Regions from separate parts of the Homo sapiens genome. Here region 1 is linked to region 2. The links are contacts of gene promoters, found by promoter capture Hi-C in blood cells and fetal thymus (Javierre and others, 2016). All regions are on one chromosome and are shown on one strand. The core of a region is centred on a gene start or on the middle of the fragment in contact, and the rest is flanking DNA. Distances in the headings are between cores, read along the strand shown.

Evidence for each region. Contacts are between HindIII fragments. The CHiCAGO score rates a contact against its expected background, and 5 or more counts as called.
Region 1: a fragment that was not itself captured here is called in contact with the fragment with the promoter of VCAM1 in region 2 in 2 of 17 cell types (endothelial precursors and M0 macrophages); the score reaches 5.8 in endothelial precursors.

Annotation. Positions count from the first base shown.
Region 1 is chr1:100,847,537-100,850,236 of GRCh38, reverse strand. No RefSeq gene overlaps it. Among named protein-coding and RNA genes, the nearest start is that of EXTL2, 46 kb to the left of the region's middle. The HindIII fragment of the contact is 954 bases long and covers 828-1,781 here.
Region 2 is chr1:100,718,476-100,721,175 of GRCh38, reverse strand. VCAM1 (vascular cell adhesion molecule 1) reads right to left here and starts at 1,434. Exons shown (of 9, transcript NM_001078.4): 1 at 1,252-1,434; 2 at 425-700. The coding sequence starts at 1,315. The HindIII fragment of the contact is 1,026 bases long and covers 697-1,722 here.

The DNA.
Region 1 (2,700 bases), core at 55-2,554, 130 kb before region 2:
GGGCATTTTAAACTGAAAAGCCAAGAATGTGTTATATTTATTTTCTGATTGTGCTGTAATTCCCTCTCCTTCCCTTCTTCCTCACATCTCTGCTTGGGCCATTGGAACAATTCAGTTTAGTTGCCTGGATAGGGGAGGTTCAGGGTCAAGGTAATATAGGAGAAAGCAATTAATACTTGTCCATATCATCTCATGGGGATAAGGATTTTATTTAGGTTTTAAAATATTTTAGACTCAAATGGATTTATGTTTTCTAGAAAGCCAAACTACATTTCTGAAACTGTAGTTCATTCTGTCATATTGAAAGTCCTTCTATAAGGCTGTGTTTTCTGAAAATGGGCTTTGCTCATAGAATTTTTGTGTGTAGATAGTGAATATTGGGCAAGTAGACTGATAGAAAGGACTTAAGCCTCTTCTGTCTTCAACAGTCCAGTTTGGTGCAATAGTTGATGTTTCAGATAGGTCTTCTTTGACTCTTTAAGAGTGAGCTATGCTCACTTTGAGTTCCAGGTATTTACTTCGATGTTAGCATTTAACACTTTGGTCACTGTATCCCTTATTAGACTACAAGATTACTGAGGACAAGGATCAGAGTCTCTTTCACTGTTTCATCCCCAATGCCTAGCCCAGTTCCTGGCTCATAGGAAAAACAAACCTGCTTGGATGAATAAATGAGCAAATTTATTGGTATTATTCAAAATTTTCCTCACTGAGCCTCAATACATGAGAGGGAGAAAATAAATATATAAAGTGTCATGGAAGTCTTTTAGTCCAATCACTGACTCAAAGTAAGAATCCTATATATAGAATCTCTACAGAGTCAAGCTTTTGCTAAAATATTTCCAGAAGAGGGAATATACTTAGGTTTTTTCCATTTATGGATCATTCACATTTTTAGAAAGTTCTTTCTTTATTGAATCAAAATCTGCCTCCTTAATTCTGTCTGCCCTTTGGAGTTTTATAGATTTCCATTTCTATAGTATAATTCTCCAAGTTTGCTAAAAAGACACAAGTTCAAAAAGATTTAAAATGTAGTAAGGATGGCTCATCTTGCACAGAAATCACCAACAGCTGGAACATCTGCTTTCTCCCTGATAAAATAAATAGGCTTTGCTTTGAATTTAGGTATTTATGGAACTGTCAGAAATGGAAAGGGAGAGGAATATGTGGGTTTGGCTACCACATTCAAGGAGGGAGAATTACCTTGATTTTTAGCCTTTGATGTGAGAGCAGCATCGTTTAGGTGCTTTATGATATCTGTCATATAACACAATATGGGGATTCATTTCTGGTTGTGGTATTTTACATTTGAAAATGCTCATCAAAATTTCTCTATGTGCCCTTGTTCTATGCCCATATAGCTACTCCCTACTGTCATTATCACTCCAAATTCTACATTTGAAAGACCAGAATTACCTCCTCCTCTTAACCAACTGTTTCTACCAACTACTCTATCACTGGCACTATTATTCTCCCAAGAGCAAAAAATACGTGGTTCATTTATCCTGCTCATCCCCACATCCTCTCAGCTACATAGTCGTGAGCATTTCTCACCTGTAGTGTTTCTTACATTTACTTCTTCCTCTCCAGTAATGATGAGGAGGCTCTCATTGCTACATGATTCATTTGCTGCTTCCCTTTCTCACTCCTGCTCCTATCCTGTTTTCGTGAAGAAGACATAGCACAGCTACATTATTTTTTTCTTGAATTCCATTGTCATCAATCTTTCACCTAATTTAAAATCCCAAACATATGGATGACCTGGTACATCAGTCTAAGCTTCTCTACTTCCATCTCAAGGTCCTCCTTCAACCCCAAAACCCTTAACTCTCAAATTGTCCAGGCTCATGTTAGCTACTGCACCACCCCATACAACCCACCCCAAACTCCAAGCCCACTCCAGTTGGTACCCTCTTTCCTTGCAACCCATCTGCACCCCAACTCATCCACAGCTGTGCTACATTTGCATTTGTATTGATCTGCTCTCTCTTCTGTGCCAATTCTTAAGTTATATTTTCCCCACAAGTTTTTATTCCAGTTATTCCAGGCCTTATTCTTCTCCTTCTCTTTCTATCACTTAACATTTTTATTGTGAATTATGATTTTAAAACAGGTAAATAAAACATGTGCACAGTTTTAAAACAGGTTGTGAAAAGAATACCCATGTAACTACCACTCAGATAGGAAGGAGAGTATTCTGGGAACCCAGTACATTTTACAGTACTAATAGTCTGTACCTCATAATTTAGTACTTATGGTAATTAAGTATCATCTTGCCTTGTCTTATGGCTTAAATGTGCCATTGTATTCCTCCTACTCTATTGTAGGCTATTGAAAGGCAAGGGCTCTACAGATTATTCTTTAGAATATCCCACAGTGTCTCAAACTGTGCTAAGTAAATACTACATATTCAAGAGATGCTTGTTCATTGATTACAGACTAGGAAAAAGCAACACTTAGTACAAACAATATGTATGTTTATGTCCAAAAACTAACATTGTTATATCTTTCAAACACATGTTAATCTTTAGGAAATAGCACAGTTCTAACGTCTTAGCTTCTTTTTTTCCCACATATTGTCCTCCTTGGTTTCGGTTTTCTTTTCTTTATATGGCATTCAGCTTTCCTGGTGATTTCTCAGGGAATTTCCAGTTTTACAAAGCAGAATATAAAAGAATGCCTTGATAATAAATAGAAGTC
Region 2 (2,700 bases), core at 185-2,684:
TTTAAGCATCAAATTGCATAAGAATAAATGAATAGAAAATCCCTGAAGGATGGAATTCATAAATCAATCAGACACATAAGCAAGTAAACATGTAAGGATGTAATCAAATGGAAATATTTTTTAATAAAACAAAAAGAAACTTAGAAATGATCATTTTACAGCTAAGGAAACCAGAGCCCAGAGAGGTTGAGTCTTATACATGGTCACTGTGTTTGTGGCAGAGGTAGAAATAGAAGCCAAGATTTGGATTCCTGCTCTCTCTCATGTTGGCCTTAGCTGTCCCTAGCTTTCCTGATGTTGTATGTTCTTTAGCCAAGAATCTGTACATGAATATCCATTTTAAAACTTTTTTTAAAATATCATTTTTAAAAAGTGATTTTAAAGTAAAATTGAGAGAAAAACAAAGATTTTCTAAAGCACTCACAGTAGATCTCCACCTGGATTCCTTTTTCCAATTTCCTAGATTCACAAGTTGCTGTGCACAGGTAAGAGTGTTCGTTCCCAAAACTAACAGGATTCATTGTCAGCGTAGATGTGGTCCCCTCATTCGTCACCTTCCCATTCAGTGGACTATCTATCTGGGTTCTCCAAGAGAAAAATGGGGACTCACAGCCTGTGGTGCTGCAAGTCAATGAGACGGAGTCACCAATCTGAGCAAGATATCTAGATTCTGGGGTGGTCTCGATTTTAAAAGCTTGAGCTGCAAAAGCAAAAAAAGACAGAAGCAAATTTACCACTAGTTTGTCTAGTATTCTCCTCCTTCTTCTCTGTATAATGTCTAAAATATGATCAGACTGATCTCTTTCCTAAGCTGCTTCAAACTAACTGCAAGGTAGCCAAAAAGCACCGAAGTCACTGCCAAAAAAGTTTATGGAATCATCTTCAGTAGAGAGAATTCTCAGTTCCAACCTTGATGCCCATTTATCAAAGCTGTTTTGTTATTTGCTAAGTTTGACCTCATTGTCAAGTATAGGAAACTAAAGAGACAGACCGACTAGAGACAGAATCCAAATTACTCAATTGCCTTTGGAAAAAAAGATACCAAAAACATCAATTTTCAGCTCTAACTATGACAGTACAATGGTATATAGCAAAACTCAATTGCATATTAAAAGTTAGACTAAATTAACTTTTCCTACTGTTTAAAATCCTAGTGTCTTTACTTCACTACTATCGCAAAACTGACTGAAGCCAAAACCAGGGCTAAAATTGAATGCTAACATTTGAAACAGATGAAGGGAAATAACTTACAAGCTGCAAACATTATCCAAAGTATATTTGAGGCTCCAAGGATCACGACCATCTTCCCAGGCATTTTAAGTTGCTGTCGTGATGAGAAAATAGTGGTTCCAAAACCCTTATTTGTGTCCCACCTGTGTGTGCCTGGGAGGGTATTCAGCTCCTGAAGCCAGTGAGGCCCGATGCAGATACCGCGGAGTGAAATAGAAAGTCTGTGCTTTATAAAGGGTCTTGTTGCAGAGGCGGAGGGAAATCCCTTCAAGGGGAAACCCAGGGCAGAGCCAGGGAAAAAAGTTTAACAGACACCCAGCCAAGTTCCACTATTAACCCCTTCAGTTGCTCTCACTGCTGAAGCTCCTCTCTCTGTCCTGGCAAAAGAAGACACTTCCAAGACTATAAAATACAGGCTTTTCCTCATCTTCGACTCCAAAAGGCTATCTTTACTGGAAAGATAAAGGACAATGCTGATTGCAGAATGAAGCTTTCTGAATCCAATGTGGGTTAAGGGGGTGGGGAGAGAAAAAATGGAGACAGAGTAGTAAATTCTACTCTGGTTTTTGAACTGGATAAATAACGACTATGCCATGTGAATTGATTTTCTCCATCAAGGAAATATGTTTGCAATTCTAAAAGAGATTAATTTTTTTCTCTTACAAGAGAAAGGAAAAAGTTATTTCTTTTGATGAGTCATTTTTTAAAAAAGGGACACCATAACTTCTTAGTTTTATATTTATTCATAAAAATAGTTCTTTTAGCAACAAACATCAACTTTTTGAAACTATTTTCTTGAGTAGAAAGTAAAGGACTGTAACTGAAATTGCTGCCAAAACAAGGGAAACAATTTTTTTTTGTTTTAGAAAAGTTACCAATAATTTGGTTAAATTGCTGGATAATTGGAATTTTTTTGCATACTTAAATGCAAGTGTATGGAATCCATCTGAAGTGGCAAATCTCTTGGGCTGTGAGATTTAACCGCAAACCCAGTTAAAAAATTAAAAATAATAGGTTTTTATTATAGGCAAGGGGACAATAACCAACTCTATGTTCCTTTTCCCCCCAGTGAAGTGCCTTTTTAAAAAAATCCCAATTAACTAACTGGCTTAGCCTTGCACACACATAGCCCAAGGCCTTGCAAAATGCTTGCCCATCAAAAAGAAACCGGAATAGCCACTTCCTTTTATTAAACACGTGCAGGTCTATCTCCCCCATTGGATCATCAGTTCCTCTCATGGTCAGGACCAGTTCTTGTTCATTGTTGTATCTACTTCTACAATATCTAATGCATGATTTTCCACTTAGTGGATACAAAAAATGCAATAATAAACGTTATACATTTGGAGAAGAAAATTCTAAATACTAGCAATAATATGTAAATACGGCATGAAAAAACTGTTAAATTCTACAAGAAAATTCTAAAGCTCAGAGACTCAATGGGATGTGTACAATAAACTTGTACTATAT